Regions from separate parts of the Homo sapiens genome. Here all the other regions are linked to region 4. Evidence: promoter capture Hi-C in 16 types of primary human blood cells and fetal thymus (Javierre and others, 2016). All regions are on one chromosome and are shown on one strand. The core of a region is centred on a gene start or on the middle of the fragment in contact, and the rest is flanking DNA. Distances in the headings are between cores, read along the strand shown.

The links. The method cuts DNA at HindIII sites, captures the fragments that hold promoters and counts their contacts. A CHiCAGO score of 5 or more calls a contact.
Region 1: a contact is called between a fragment that was not itself captured here and the fragment with the promoter of RCAN1 in region 4, in 5 of 17 cell types (megakaryocytes, endothelial precursors, monocytes and 2 more). The highest score is 8.3, in megakaryocytes.
Region 2: a fragment that was not itself captured here is called in contact with the fragment with the promoter of RCAN1 in region 4 in 4 of 17 cell types (M2 macrophages, M1 macrophages, megakaryocytes and 1 more); the score reaches 6.6 in M2 macrophages.
Region 3: a fragment that was not itself captured here is called in contact with the fragment with the promoter of RCAN1 in region 4 in 11 of 17 cell types (M2 macrophages, megakaryocytes, M1 macrophages and 8 more); the score reaches 13.2 in M2 macrophages.

Annotation. Positions count from the first base shown.
Region 1 is chr21:34,436,901-34,440,914 of GRCh38, forward strand. No RefSeq gene overlaps it. Among named protein-coding and RNA genes, the nearest start is that of SMIM34, 15 kb to the left of the region's middle. The HindIII fragment of the contact is 3,424 bases long and covers 1-3,085 here.
Region 2 is chr21:34,406,780-34,410,737 of GRCh38, forward strand. LOC105372793 (salivary glue protein Sgs-3) reads left to right here. Exons shown (of 6, transcript XR_001755015.2): 2 at 901-1,169; 3 at 1,511-1,641. Among named protein-coding and RNA genes, the nearest start is that of C21orf140, 7.7 kb to the left of the region's middle. The HindIII fragment of the contact is 1,414 bases long and covers 1,139-2,552 here.
Region 3 is chr21:34,390,131-34,394,542 of GRCh38, forward strand. No RefSeq gene overlaps it. Among named protein-coding and RNA genes, the nearest start is that of C21orf140, 8.7 kb to the right of the region's middle. The HindIII fragment of the contact is 335 bases long and covers 1,354-1,688 here.
Region 4 is chr21:34,612,578-34,616,604 of GRCh38, forward strand. It overlaps RCAN1 (regulator of calcineurin 1), which reads right to left and starts at 2,536. Exons shown (of 4, transcript NM_004414.7): 1 at 2,183-2,536. The coding sequence starts at 2,434. RefSeq lists silencers at 2,051-2,150, 2,341-2,770. The HindIII fragment of the contact is 8,899 bases long and covers 1,131-4,027 here.

The DNA of each region.
Region 1 (4,014 bases), core at 124-2,623, 180 kb before region 4:
GAAGAGGTACAAAAACTAGAAAGAAGGTGGCAAAAACAATCATTGACTGTATGATTGGAAAAAATAAGAGAATCAATTGCAAAACCATTAGAAAGAGCAGGATAATTCAGGAAGCTCAGGGGGCACAAAATAAATGTTTTTACAAAACAATATCCAAGAATCTATATTAACAACAATATCTTTGAGATATAATTGAATAGAAGATTCCATTTACAATAGGAAACCCCAAAGATAGAACACCCAAGAGTTGCACAAAATTTACACAAAGAAAATCTAAACAACAGAGGGACAAAACGGAAGATTTGACTACATGCAAGTATATTTCCTAGTCTTGGGTAGAAAGACTCATCTGCATAAAGATGACAATCCTTCCTGAATTAATCTATAAATTTAGTATAATTCCAATGGAAATTTCCCTTGTTTTGTTGTTGTTGTGCTGTTTTTGTTTTGTTTTCCAGACTACACTGAATGCCAAATATTCCATTTAGTGATTTTCTTCTTCCCTTTTCCTTTCTAATGACATATTTTGTGCTTTTCAGACCTGCCTTTCTTTCTCTCGGCACCAATGAATAAAGTTCCAGCTTTAAGGCTTGAAAAATCACAGCAAAGTTGCAGCAAAATTAAAAGGAAAAAAATGTTCTTTTTTTTTCCTGCAGCTGCAGAGAGTGGCAGATAGCATCCTGCGTGATAAACGCCTATTCTTGGCTAGGCGCAGTGGCTCACGTCTGTAATCTCAGCAACTTGGGAGGCCAAGGCAGGCAGGTCACCTGAGGTCAGGAGTTCGAGGCCAGCCTGGCCAACAAGGTGAAACCCCGTCTCTACTAAAAATACAAAAATTAGTTGGGTGGTGGCGCACACCTGTAATCCCACCTACTTGGGAGGCTGAGGCAGGAGAATTGCTTGAACCTGGGACGTGGAGGTTGCAGTGAGCTGAGATAGTGCCACTGCACTCCAGCCTGGGTGAAAAGAGTGAGACTCTATCTCAAAACAAACAAACAAACAAACACCTATCCTTGCCTATGTCATTTTAACAAAGGAGGAAGTAAATCCCCTGGATTTCAGAGGCTGATGCTCTGCCCAAGAAAAGCAACCCTAACTTCCCCAAAGGCTAAAATTCAGACTGATTGGCTCTGGCAGAGATATTTAAATTGATACCTCTGTTTCCTCAAAGGTATAAGCCTTTGCGAACTTTCTTTGGTTTCTCTCTTCTCTCACAGGAGGCAGGGGATAAACAAATATGTTAGATTTCTTATTTAAACAAAGAGCTTGAGGGTTTTGCCTCATCGAAATTAACAGAGACAAGTTGATGCTAATATTTTTATGGAAAATCGAATATGCAAAAATAGCCAAGGAAATTCCAGGGAAAAAGTAATGAAAGAAAATATCACCAAAAGATGTTAAAACATTTTGGAAAGCCACAGAAATTAAAAGTGTTTGATCCTAGCATATAAACAAGCAGACAAGGGGCTGGGCATGGTGACTCATGCCTGTAATCCCAGCACTTTGTGAGGCCGAGGCTGGTGGATCACCCGAGGTCAGGAGTTCGAGACCAGCCTGGCCAACATGGTGAAACCTCGTCTGTACTAAAAATACAAAAATTAGCCAGGCATGGTGGCACGCACCTGTAGTCCCAGCTACTTGGCAGGCCGAGGCAGGAGAATTGCTGGACCCTGGGAAGCAGAGGTTGCAGTAAGCCGAGATTGCACCACTGCACTCCATCCTGGGCGACAGAGCAAGACTCTATCTCAAAATTAAAATAAACAAACAAACAAATAAATAAATAAACAGGCAGATAGATCAGTGGAACAGAATAAAATCCAGAAATAGACTGAAAACATTCAGGAAAACAGTATAAAATAAAGGGGACATTTCAAATCAATGGAGAAAAGATTAGTTATCTCAGAAATGAATGGGACGATTGAGTAGACTGGGAAAGAGTAAAACTGGAGCTCTACACACACCAAAATACATTCCAGATGGGGCTAAGATTTTATATATCTATATATGTTTAAATAAAGCCATGAAAGAACTAGAGCAAACATGAGAGATTTATTTTTATAATCCCAGACGGTGGCAATCTTTCCAAGTGTGGCACAAAAGTCAGAAATCATTAAAAAAAGACTGATAAATCCAACTACACAAAGTTAGACATTTCTTTATGGCAAAAAATGCTATCAAAAAGTCAAGAGATCAATGATAATGGGGGAAACATTTGTAACACATACAATAAGCTGTCCAATTTTTTAATAGTCAAAGACTTTAACATTAAGAAACAGACCAGCTGGCTGGGCATGGTGGCTCGAGGCTGGGGGATCACTTGAGGTCAGGAGTTCAAGATCAGTCTGGCCAACATGGCAAAACCCCGTCTCTACCAAAAATACAAAAATTAGCTGGGCATGGTGGGGCATGGTGGTGCATGCCAGTAATCCCAGCTACTCAGGAGGTTCTTCTGGCTTCTCAGCTTGCAGACAGCCTATTGTGGGACCTTATGATTGTGTGAGTTAATACTTAATAAACTCCTGTTTATATTATGTGTGTGTGTGTGTATATATATGTGTGTGTGTGTGTGTGTGTATACACACATATACTGGAATATATGTATATACATATATACATATATACACATACATATATATACACATATACATATATACACATATATATACACATATACATATATACATATATACACGTATACATATATACATATATACACATATACATAAATACATATATACACATATATATACATATACTATATATATACATATACATATATTCATTCCATTAGTTCTGTCCCTCTAGAGAACCCTGATGAATACAGTGGGCTACACACCTATTGGAATGGCCAAAACCCAGAACACTGACAACACCAAATGCTGGTAAGGATGTGGCGTTTTTTATCCGCATTCATTGCTGATGGTAATGCAAAATAGTGCAGCCAGTTTGGAACACAGTTTGGCAGCTCTTTACAAAACGGCGTGTACTCTTACCATACGATCCAGAAACTGTATTCCTAGGTATCTACCCAAAGGAGTTGAAAACTTGTAACCACACAAAAACTTGCACACAGATGCTCATAGCAAGCTTTATTTATTATTGCCCAAACTTGGAAGCAAACAAGATGTCCATCAGTAGGTGAATGGATAAATAAACTGTGGTGTATCCACACAGTAGAATATTATTCAGTGCTAAAAAGAAATGAGCTATCAAGACATGAAAAGACATGGAGGAAACTGAAATGCATATGACTGAGTGAAAGAAGCCCTTATGAAAAGCTACATACTGTATGACTCTAACTATGTGACATTCTGAAAAAGGCAAAACTATGGTGAAAACATCAGTGGTTGCCAGCAGTTGAGACGGGTGGGGGGAAGATAACCAGGTAGAGCATAGAGGACTTTAAGGGCAGCGAAAATGCTCTGTATATTACTACGATGGTGGATACATGTCATTATACAGCAGGTCCTTGGATGACACTATCTCATTCAACATCATTTTGCTATAAAGTTGATGAGAAAAAAAAGTCAATTCCTAGCCAGGCCACTGTCTCTGTGGAGGGTGTGCGTTCTCCCCATGTCTGTGTGGGTTTCCTCTGGGTCCTCCAGTTTCCTCCCACATCCCAAAGCTATGCACGGTAGGTGAACTGGCATGTCTACATGGTCCCAGTGTGAGCGAGTGTGGAAGTGGGTGAGTGTGCCCTATGATGGAAGAGGACCCTGTCCAGGGTTGGTGTCTGCCTTGACCCTGTGCCTCTGGGATGGGCTCTGCCATCCACAGCTCTGAAGTGGAATAAGCCAGTCAATAATATTCTCGCTTGTTTTTTGTTGTTGTTGTTGTTTGTTTGTTTTTGTGACAGAGTCTCACTCTGTTGCCCAGGCTAAAGTGCAGTGGCACTAACTCGGCTCACTGCAACCTCCACCTCCAGGGTTCAAGTGATTCCTGTGTCTCAGCCTACTGAGTAGCTGGGACTACAGGCATGCGCCACCATGCCCAGCTAATTTTTGTATTTTT
Region 2 (3,958 bases), core at 596-3,095, 210 kb before region 4:
ATTTGTTTTATCTGAGTTGCTTCCTCAGGAAAGGAGCCCAAGTCCTCTCCAAAAGTATCAGAGAACTGAAACTCACCAGATCATCTTGTCTAGACAATGAGACGTCAGGCCCTCCATTCATCATGACTGCTTCCTTACCCCTCCCGAGTTCCTGTTACATTTCTTCCCTGCTATATAAACCCCTAATTTTAGTGGGTCCAGAAGATGGATTTGAGACTGAGCTCCATCTCCTGGGCAGCAGCACCCAATTAAAGCCTTCTTCCCTGGCAATACTGATTGTCTCAATGATTGCCTTCCTTCCTTCCTTTCTTTTTGAGATAGAGTCTCACTCTGTCACCCAAGCTGGAGCACAGTCGCTCTATCTTGGCTCACTGCAACCTCTGCCTCCCAGGTTCAAGCACTTCTCCTGCCTCAGCCTCCTGAGTAGCTGGGATTATAGGTACCCGCTACTACAGCTGGCTAATTTTTGTATTTTTTTTTTTTTATAGAGATGGGGTTTCACTATGTTGGCCAGGCTGGTCTCAAACTCCTGACCTCAGGTGATCCACCTGCCTCGGCCTCCCAAAGTTCTGGGATGAGAGGTGTGAGCCATCACGCCCAGCTGAGTATGTGTGTGTGTGTGTATGCTTATGGGGATGTGCAAATGTGTGTGTGAATGTGTGCACGTGTCCTTGTGAATTGTGAATACCCAGGACTTGAGCACACTCAGTTCCTGATGCACTTCCTGTTTTCTCAGCAGCTGAGCTCAGGCCTGGAACTGAGTGACAGCACACCCGGGCACCTGTCTCCCTGGGCACCCCTCCCACGCCTGCTTCCCACGGCATTCCCAGCTCCCACCACTGGGAAGGAGCTGGAATCATGAGTCGGGATAATCACCGAATTCTCTTCGACCTTCCTCAGCTCCTGGTTTGTTAAGGCAAACCCCCATCTCTGGCTTCTCCTGGAACCTCACCTGGGAAAGAAAGAGGCAGCCCCGGAGCTGGAAGCTGCTTCAGGGCTCACCCGGAACAGCAGACTCAACCTGGACCCATCCAGGCATCTCCTGGGAGTTTCACCCAATTGCTTCTGCCTGGCACCAGCTCAGAGGTTCTGACAGAATTGGCCTGGGGTGAGACCTGGCATCCATGGGATTTTTACAAGCTTCCAGGTGATTCTACAGGGAAGCCAAGGTGAGAACCCCTGTCCTAGAACCAGGTCTGATCAGGGGCCGGTGGGGAACTGTGGGTGGAGAACATTAGTGCTTCCAGAGCCTCAGGGTTGGTTTTGAAAGGAACGTAACACATTTTTTTTTCTCACAAAGACATATAGAGAGAGACTTTTTAAAATAGACATATATATAGAGAGATGTTTTAATAAAGAGAGGTTTGGGTTTATATAAGTAAAAAAGATGATAGAAAATAGAGAATGAGATTAGGCTTCCCCTTGCTCTCAAAAAATGGTTTGAGAGTCTTGGAACTGGTTCCACTCTATGATAGCCATGAGTACTGTTCGCCCAACTTTTGGTTCTCAGCCTTCCAGGCCCCGGTGGGATGAGACTTCCCTGCCCCCACGGTTGAGAGGAGCCATGGGCTTATTCTAGCCAATGAATGGTGGATGGACGTGACTCGTGTCTCTTCCAGGCTGGAGCATTTAATTGTCCAGGTGAGATACTCAGGGACTCGTCCCTCCAGAGCTGAGAATGGCCATGTTTCCAGAGGGTCTGCAGGAGCAACCTGAGTCTCAGAGCACAGCCACCAGCAGACCTGCTGCACGCATGTGGCGGGGGAAAGAAAGAAAGCCAGCTGTCTGCAGCCACTGAGAGTTTGGGGTGGTTGTTTCTCATGACAAAACCAGCTCACCCTGACTTATACAAAGTCTTTGAGTTATATAGATGGAGAATGAGGCTCTTGGGTCCCTCTATTCTCACAAAGCAATAGCCTAGCTAAATCCATCTAACTAGGGAGCAGAAAAGGGGATGTGCTGGCTTGCACACCCTAGACAGTTGTTCAAGAAGTCAGGACACCAGGCCTGGAGTGATACTTCAGCCATCCTTCTAGGTGAGGGTCTTGAGGCCACACAGACAGAAGTGGCAGAGATGGGACACACATTCGTCTTCTCACTCACAGTCTGGCACTGAGCTGTGGGCTGCTGGGACACCATGCCCCCATACGAGTAGCCTTCCCACTCCTTACCTTGAAGGAAAAGTGTTTTTTGGACAAATACCTGATGGAAACATTACATGGGCCTTGGAATCTGTTAGATCTAGCTTCCTGAAACTCTTGCTAGCTGTGTGACAATATACAAGTTTCTTAACCTCTCTGAGCCTCAGTGCTCTAATTACACTCCCCTCATAGAGTTTCTAAGAGCATCCTGGGGCTGGCACGTGTCAACGCACCCAGTATTTGATAGAGTTTGTTAAACGTTGGTTATCCTCTCTCCCTATCGCACCTCAAATGGTAAGGGCTGCCTGCCAGCTTCCATATCCCCAGCAGTGCCCTGAGTTGTTCAGATGTTCATCCATCTCCCACAGAACTCAGGTTCCTTTGGAGGAAGCCACATCAAGTCCTGCTCCAAGCTTAAGCCAGTCAGCACATTCCATGCTCTGCCCCATTGCCAGGGTTCAGGAGTATGCTCGTGATCTAAGCACCCCCACTCCCAGATACAGCTCAAGATTCTTGCTTGGACTTCTGGGCACTCAGGCTCCTCCGAGAGGGAATCAAACTTACTTCTCTCCATGTCCTTTCCTCTAGGAGATGCGTCTTTCATAAAACTCTCATCAACACTGTTCAGACATGTCCCACCCCAGCAGGGGACAGCCTGGGCTCAAGCTGGGATCCCTACTTTATTTATTTTCTGCTAATTAAACTTCCTAATATACTCCACACTAAGTGTGCTTGCAAGGCAGGGGGTGTGGGATAAGCGGCCCTGCCTGGCTGGGAGAGGGGGCAGCTCCCTGCTGTACTATGTATTAATAAAGAGACACATGCATGGCAGGGCTTGTCTGGGCCTTGGTGGCAGCTTAGGACAGAAGGCACGTGACAGTCAGGGGTTCAAACAACCCAGGGAGAACACTGCTTCAGGGAAGACAGCTCAGCATCTTCCTGGCAAAGATAATGACATTGATAATACTCTCCAAAGAATTTCAGGATTTTGAGCAATCAGAAAAGCAACACAGAAATTCATGTCATCAAAACGATATGGCTCTATTGGACACTTAAGACATTTATTGGAGGCTCAACAACATAATCCTGCTGGTTGGTTTTACTTCATTGATTTTCCGTTGTGTCTGATTACATTGCTAATGCTGATGGTGGATGAGCTACGGCTCTTTTCCTGCCTGTCCTGAGGTTTATCCACCAATGTTTCAGTTCTGTTTTAAGATATTGTCCTAAGCCCCCAGCATCGCATGCATGCTGTTTTTTTGTTTTGTTTTGTTTTGTTTTTTACAAAGAGTTCATAGCCCGTGGAAGACTCTCCTCCATCACACACTTAGGTTCCCTCCACACCAGGCCTGGAAGGAGTCTAGCTTCTGGGGACTGTACATATGCTGTGGACCATGCAGAACCTGGAGAGGCGGTGACCCCTTCTAGAAGTGATCTGCCTGAATCCTTCCCTCTGGAGGAGGCATTTATTAAATGCCAGGTTCCTGAAAGGCTCTGAGATGGGCACTCCCTCTCCTGAGTCGTCCCTTCCATTACTGCTTTCCTATTTCTGGCCAGGGTTCCCTGGCCCCTCCTCCCTGCTCCCATGGGACCCCAGTTCATCCCCATCTTTGCTCAATTGCCCTGCACTGTAGTAATCCATTGGCACTCTTGTCTTCTCCAGGAGAAATAGTTGGAGGAGAAGTTTATAGGGTTTCCTGGGCCAGGGCTGGTCTACAGTCACTGGACAGCAGGAAACGACCCTTCGGGGCCTAGGAGGGCCAAGGCTGGTGGGCAGGTACAGGGGGAGCCAGCACTGCTGTCCACCACTGTGCAGC
Region 3 (4,412 bases), core at 271-2,770, 220 kb before region 4:
CCCTGGTGACTTTATTCTGCCTAATCCTGCTGCGGCCTGGGGTCCTGTTAGAACGTGAATGGAAGACCACAGCAGAGGTGGGATGCCCTTGGATTTCTGCCATCCCCACGCTTTCGTGACATGCTCAGATGGGGCCTAGAACTGACCCTGGGCCGTGGCCTACCATCCTCCCTTTGTCAGGGCCTCCTTGCACCCTGGCAGGTTACCCCACCCACCCTGGCCCATGTTCCTGCCCCAGGGGCCTGGCCTCTCTGCTGCCCACCCTGCAGGTGTAGGGTATCACCTGCTCCTGCCTTGCCTGGCATCAGACCTGCTACCTTGGCACCACTTCCTCCCTCATGCCCACCCGCCTGTGTGCCTCATAAGTCCAAGGCGGGGGATCTGCTGACCAGTAGACACTCATGTGCTAAACACAAGCGCTTTTCTAGGCTTTGGGATTTAAAGCTACACTTTGGAATTTGTGGAAGATCTGGCCATCTTGGAAAATTAGGTAGAAGGTGACATAAGGACTGGACTAAACCACTGATCATCCCAACAGTGCCCGTGGCTTTTCTGTTTTTTGTTTTTGCTTTTGTTTTTTTAGAGATGAGGACGTGCTGTGTCCCTCAGGTTGGAGTGCAATGGTACAATCATAGCTTATTGCAGCCTTGAACTCCTGGGCTCAAGCGATCTTCCCACCTCAGCCTCCCGAGTAGCTGGGACTAGGCCCTGCTAATTTATTTATCTTTTGTTTAGAGACAAGGGTCACGCTGTACTGCCCAGGCTGGGTGTAGGTTTTTTCTGAAGAGCATTTGGGAGTTTTGTTTTTGCTTGGTTACTTTTCCTATGCACCCTTCTACCACTAGGGGGAGATGATTAATCACTAATTGAAGGGATTTTGTTCGTTTTTTATGTTTTGGGTTTTTTTGTTTGTTTGTTTGTTTGTTTCAATAAAGAAAGAGTTTAATTGCAGTAAGGCAGGCCGCGCAGGAGATGGCGTTCTTATTCAAATCGGTCTCTCTGAAGGCTCAGAGGTTAGGGGTTTTCAAGGCGGAGTTCTTGCTATCATTCCACTCCTTAGGTACATGAAGTTGGTAGATGTGTAGTTTGATGTTAAATTATTGGGTGGATGCATGCACCGCTGGTTGTAGAGACTGGTAAAGCCCACTAGCAGGACCCCACCTGGACCAAAGCAATCCCTCAACCCGCTGGACCATGACCGAGAACAAACACAAAGGACCTGAAATGCGTTGTGAAGGCCAGAAGCCGACATCCACATTCTCCACCCACGGAGAGCCCCAGAGTCCCTCATGCACATCCTGCTTGATCTATTACACACATTCACACATTCGCAACACATTTGTTTGGTTTTCAAGCTTACAACATATTAGAAACAGAAAGGAAGAAAGGCTGTCAGCAGCAGAAATACCTTTGAGCAAGAGGGACGGTCTTTGAGAAGCAGACTTGAGAACTCACCGTGTGCTCTTCATGCGCCAGACACTGCGGCAGCCACAGCGTCCCACATGGGATGCCACACGTGATGATGTTATGTTCATGGTGATGACCTCAGGCGTGAAGAAGAGGTTCAGCCGTTTCACACAGTCTGTTTAACAAGCACATACATAACACAGACATACGTGAGGAATCTCAGAAACCAAATAATTCAAACAAAGAGTCTGGGATTCTTTCAAAAGCGTTGCCTCTGCCCAAGCTTTCTTCAAATTCTGTCTATAGGGAAACGTAGCTGTCAATGTCTCATTCCCGAAGACTTCCAGATGCCTGGATCTTTAGAGTTCTCCACCTCACCCCGAGTTGATTACACAAATGTTCCTGGGGCTTTGCTTAGTGCCCTGCTCTGTGCCAGGCCCCACAGGCAGAGATGGCAGGGACCCAGGCCTGACGTTGGAGAGCTCCTGACCCACTGCCGGAAACACACGCACCATCACACCATGAGGGAGCTCCCCCATGCAGATCTCATCTGTGTCAGAGTGAAGCCAGAGGATGGACGGTGGAGAGTCTAGAAGGAGAAGAGAAAGGAGGATGAGTTCTCAAACATGAGCAAGCAGGAGAGGCCATTTAAAATGCACACTCTGGCCTGGTGCAGTGGCTCATGCCTGTAATCCTAGTGGAGGCCGAGACAGGAGGATCACCTGAGGTCAGGAGTTTGAGACCAGCCTGGCCAACATGGTGAAACCCTGTCTCTACTAAAAGAAAACCAAAAATTAGCTGGGCGTGGTGGTGCATGCCTGTAATCCCAGCTCCTCCGGAGGCTGAGGCAGGAGAATTGCTTGAACCCGGGAGGTGGAGGTTGCAGTGAGCAGACATCGCACCACTGCACTCCAGCCTGGGTAAAAGAGTGAGACTCTGTGTCAAAAAAAAAAAAAAAACCAACCTAAAAAATAAAAATAAAAATAAAATGCAGACTCCTGGGCTGGATTCCAGGTCCACTGCATCAGAACCTGCAGGAGAAGGACCAGGAATTTGTGATACGAACATCCCCAGGCAATTCTTGACCCTCCTTTTGAGACCTACACTGTAGAAGATGGGCAGAGGGAGAGGCAGCAGGAGCCCAACCTGGGAAGGAGCCATCGGGAAAGGTGGGAGGAGGGGCAGGAGACAGCGCACGCGAGGCAGCAAATCCTTCAGCCCTTACTCCCCAAGAGCTCACAGCTGCCTCCACAGAGGGTAACGGTATCATTATCCCCTTTTCGCAGATAAGGAAACTGAGGCAGAGAGGCCCTGCCTAAGGTCCCCCAGCTGGTGGGAGGCAGAGACAGGAACCAGCCCTCATGGTCTCACTGTGAGACTGGACTTTTCACAGCTGTGCGGTCGAGTCTGAGCCAAGTAAAGTAAAGCGAGTTTTTGTACTTCGAAGTCTGGGACATAAAATCTTCAAGACGTCAGCATCAGTGACACGATGGTGACAGAGGCCAGCATTGCTTGTTGTATCTTTTTCCATCCTGTTCCTATCTACACTTCCATTCTTCTGTTCATTCTGCTTGCATTTCCCACCCAGATGGCTTTCACGGACACACACACACACACACACACCGCACACACACACATCACTCACAGACGCACCCTGTGCCCAATGTCAAAAGACAAAACTGCAACACGTTTAGTCATAGACCTCATTGTCTTTTATTCTTGATTCATGAATGGGGCAGCCTCCCTTCTATAAAACAGAGCAAGAGCTCCCACCGGACAATTGCAGAACAGTGGGCTTTGTAAGGTGGGGACAAGGAAACAGAACAATAGAAAAGAAGCTGATGGGTTAACATCAGGTTACTTCAGGACCTCCTAATCACGCTGACTCAGGTAGACCAGAAGCTCCTGTTTTCAGGAAAAACTAATCTGTTTGGGGACCTACCTGCTTCCTTATTAAAGTTTTGGGTTGATTATATGGCTCTTAGCATGACTGACTCCATTTTGGTTTGGTTTGATCTGGTCTGTTGGGGCCTAGTGCAGGATCTCAGTCCAAAACAATAGCCTCCCATAATTTTTGTTTAATGCTGGGTCAGCGGTAGGCTTGGTCCACTTGCGCTTCTGCCTGGGTGGGCCTTCCTCTTTTCCTCCTTTTCTCTCTGTGGTGAAATCCCCATTCTTCTTTCTGTCCTCCACTTCAGTTTCACCTCTTCCTGCAACCCTGCCCACAGCTCTTCAGCGCCAGGCCCTGGACTCAGCTCTCACTACGCAAACCTCCAACATCTCACTGAGTGGGAGGTGGCCCCCACCTCCACACCAGACCTGGACCTTGAGGGTCCAGGCTTGTTTTCCTTGGTACTCCTGGCCCTGACGCACCCAGCCAGGCACACAGAAGGTGCTCCAGTATTTGATGAGTGAATGACTGGTAGCACCAGAGGAAAGGGAGCAGGGAGTATGGCCAAGACCATTAGCTGCCTTCCTCAGTGTTCCTTCTCCCCTTCTCCCTAGTAATAGAACCCTGACTTTTACCTGGCCGTATGGTCACTCAAAATAAAGGACTACATTTCCCACCTTCTCTCGCAACCAAGCCTGGCCAATCAGGTTTAAGTGGAAGTGTAGTGTGGGACTTCCTGGAAGGATCTTTAAAAGGGACAGGATGGGCCCCTCTTCCTCCCTTTCTCCTTTTTGGCTGCCTGGAATACTAATGCAATCGCTTGTTCCGCAGCCACTTTGGACTAAGAGGTGAGTTTGAGACCTGAACCAAATCTAGGACAATGGAGTAAAAAGATAGGATCTTGGGCTCTCAGTGACCATGGATCCATCATTTCACCCCTGAACTGACACCTTGACACTTCTTATTTTTGGTGGTGGTGGTGGGGTAGCTTCTATTTTGTTGGCATCTCTGTGGTCTATTCATAGTTCACCTGTTTTAGCTGACACATGGAGCCAGTTAGAGATGGGCGCAAGGGCTTCCTGATATGAAGACTTGGATTCTGGTCCTGACCCTC
Region 4 (4,027 bases), core at 1,286-3,785:
TGACCCAACCTATGGACTCCACTGCAGGGGCTCCCTTGCCTCCTAGCTGTCCTTTGAGTTCTGCCAATGAAATCAGAAGCCTGAGAATTTCTTCCCTGCCTGTACCCTGCCTTAGCATCTCAACTCCACACCTTCAAGTCTACAGCTCCTGGCAGGCAGCTCCTCCCCTAGGTTTCCAGCCACGTGACTTCCTCCCCCAGCTCCAGCTTCCAGCTGTTGCTCATGGCTGCAGGCCTGGACATCCCTTGTTAGTTCCCTCAGGACTGCCCCAATTCACCAGCTCTTCAACAAAACCCCCACAGTGTTAGGACCTGACCACTCTGACCAAGCCCCCTCCCCTTGCTCTCTATCCCTGTTTCAGTCTCTTCATCGCATTTATCACTATCCGAAATGATCTTGTTCACTTGCCTTTTTCCTATTGTCTATCTCCCCCTCAACCACTGGATCCTAAGCTCCATGAAAGCAAGGAGCTTGAAATGTTCCCTGCTTTATCCTCTGGGCCTAAACCAGTGGCTGGAACACAGTAAGCACTCAATAGACAGCAAAGCCTGAATGAACCAATGCTACATTGTCTCTGCTCAAAATATCACCATATCAGTAAGACCTTCCCTGATCATCTTATGGAAAATAGCAATCTCCCCTCCACTCCCAGATCTCCACTCCCTCCTCCTGCCCTCCAAGTCTTATTTTTTCCTATAGCATCATTACTTTCTGATACATTTGATATTTCTTTATTGCTTGTTTCCCTTCCAAAAAATGTCAACCCTGGAGGCAGAAATGCTATTTTATTTACTGATGCAGCCTCAGAGCCTAGGACAGTACCTATCCCGTAGCGAAGTCTCAATAAATATTTGTTAAAATGAATAGCTAGCGAAGTGGGCAAACTTTCATACAACACAATTTCAGGATTGTATCCAACACTGGAAAAAATTGTCTCCAACACTACAAGTAAGTGCCGTCTTACGTGACTTGACCTTGTTCTAGCAGAAAGACAGCCTAGAACTCCTAAGGAAAAGGTCTGAAATGCTGGCTAGCGCTTAGTTTATATGGAGAGGAAAAGGTTTTAGAGTAAGATCAATCAGTAAGACCCTGAGTTCCTGACAATTGCTGCTCTAGAAAGCATGCCTGGAAGCTTACCTAAGCACACGGCCATTGTAATTCCTTTCAGAAAGTAAGTGAACATATAAATTATAAATAAATGACACTTACATACACCATTCTGTTTCACAGTGGTGTTGTATTGGCAGCAGCCTTCAACTATAGTTCATTGACAGCATTTGTGGACCCACAGCCAAGCGCTGAAAGCACTGCTTTTTTTGACAGCTGCTCTCCTAATGGGGCATCTCTCAAAGACCGGTTTCATTCTGTGACGCCCACGTTGTCCACATTTTATTCTGCACAATAACTGCAGATTTGAAATAAATTCTTCCTCCCCACCACCATTATTGATTACTCATACCTGCCCCTCACCCTCCAAAGTGTCTAAATTGTGTGGATTTTGCGGGGGTGGGGGGAGGCGGGGGAAGGAGTCGACTCCCCATGTACTGGGTGTCCCCGATGGCGGCAAGCCACACCTTCACACAAGGGGGCAAGGTTCTTGACTAAATATCCTAAAGGTCTGAAAGATGGTCCCCTTCCCCCCAACACAATTCCACCAAAACTGGCCAGCCGCTGGCTAATGAGCAACCACGGATCCTCACCCAAACATTGGCTTTTCTTCCAATAGTGCAGATTGGGAATGCAGGGACGTCGTCCTATTTATGAACACTGAGTCACGTCGCCGCTCAATGTCTGTTTCCTCCTCCCTAGGAATGAGGTGACCCCCTCCTCCAGCGAGTAAATGCGGGGCGATGGCGAGAGCGCAGGGGGCGGCGGCGCTGCCCCACCTTGGGGAGCGAATTCACCCCCCTAGTCGCACCAGCCTGGGCGCACACGGGGGCCGGGGCGAGCCTGTGGGACTCTGCAGTGAGCTCCGCGCGCCCCGGGGGTGCTAGGGGACCGGGACCCTCGGGGCGCCGTCCCCACGCCCCAGCCCTGACGGGTCCGCGGCCGAGCAGCCCGGGGGACGTCGCTGCCTCCCCGCCCCGCGCGCGGCCGGGACTGGGCGCTGCGACCCGCGCCGCCTCCTCGGGCAACAAGTGTCCGCCCTCCGCCCCGACGGCCCGCCCGGCGCGGTCCTCACCCGGCACAGGCCGTCCACGAACACGCGCGGGTCCAGGTGACAGGCGATGGTGGCGCTGGGCAGGTCCTGCAGGTCCACCTCCTCCATCTCGCAGTCAATGAAGCTCCAGTCGCCGCCGCCCTCGTCCGCCTCGGCCGCCCCCGAGAGGGGCGCGAAGGGCCGCAGCGTCACCCCGGGCCGCGCTCGCGCCTCGGCCGCCTCCGCCGCCTCCGCCGCGGCCCCGAGCTGGGGACCGGCCACGCCGTCCTCCATCCCCGCGCCCGCGCGACCCTGTGCGCCCCAGCGGGCTGCTCCGGGCTTGCGCGCCGGAGCCTCACGCGCTCCGGTCCGCGCCCGGCCGGCGGCTCCGCCGTTAACCCCCTCGGAATCGCGCGGCGGCAGGCGGCGGGCTGTCAGCAGTCTCCCAGCGACACGGCCTCCCAGCGCCAGCCCCGCCCGTCACCGTTCCGCGCGGGAGGGGCAGAAGCCCGGCGCGGCGACCGCCCCCCCAGCCCCTAGGGCCGGCCACCGGCAGATCCAACGGTGGCCCCTTTAAGGCCGGCGCCGGTTGGGTTATTGTACCCCGCCCTTCCAGGAGACGGGGCCAATAAAGGAACGGAATTCTCTTCACGTGACCTTCCTTCTGCCGCCCGAAGCCCGAAGCCTCAGGGCGGCCATGTTGGTTAGGGGCAAAGTCCTCGTCCCCAGTTCCGCTTTTCTGACAGCTGGTGCCAGCTGAAGGACGCCGGGCAGAGTCCTCGGCTCTTGGGCCCTTGGGGTGATAACTGGGGAGGCAACGTTTTTGTGGTTCCCATGCGGGGACGTTTTGAAGCACAGGGGCCCACTTTTGGGAATTTAAGCGAGACATAGTCTCCCTGTGGCTCTGTGGCCCCTGGCAAGTGGTTAGATGCTTACCGTATATTATCAGATATAGTCGCAATAAAGACTGAACTAGACCATGATAACAATGCCTTACTTTTCTATTTCAGCGTATTAGTCACTATACCATTGTGAAAATTTATGTAATTAGAAGTAATTTTTCTGAATTACCATTATATGCTATGTACAATAGGACATAACGAAAGAATTAAGAGATCACCCCTTTCCTTTGGGGAATAGCGGAAAAATAAGAGGACCTCAAGTGAGCAGACATGTCTCTTCCTGAAAAATAGAATTCTTTTTTGGACAGTATGATACAGTGAGAACTTGGGTCTGAATTTCAGCTTTGCTTTTTAACTACTTGTACAAATAAGCTGAATCTTAGTTTCCTCATCTGAAAAAAATGAAGACATATTACTAAGAATTCAGTCAGTGCTTAATAAATGGTAGCTGTTTATGCACTGGGTTCTTTGGAGGTTGTGAAATTACAGTTATATTTTTTCTTAGAGTAGGCTTACTCTCTAGTTAGGAAGTGTTAGTAATTATAACAAAAAGTATATCCAACAGCTGAGATTTATTCAGAACTTGCCATGTGCACGGTTCTATGATTACTATTATCATAGTCTTAGGACAGTTTGTGTCCTCAGGGAGCTAAACCCAAGAGGAATAATAATACCCATCTAGAGATAACTCATAAAATAGAATATGATATGAGGATGTGAAGAAATTGGAACCGTCATACTGTGAAAGGGAAATCTTGGGCCCCCAAAATCACTAAGGAAAACTAAAGCTGGAAGTTGCTTAGAGCCAACCAGCCTCCCATTCCATTCAAAGTCACCCCTCTGCTCACTGAGACAGATGCATTTCACCGAGACAGATTTGCCTCCTTTATAAAGACTAATCAGAAACCCAAAGAGTGTAACCGTTTGTCTATCACCTATCTGTGACCTGGAAGCTCCCTCCTGCCTCCTGCCTTTGCAGTAGTCT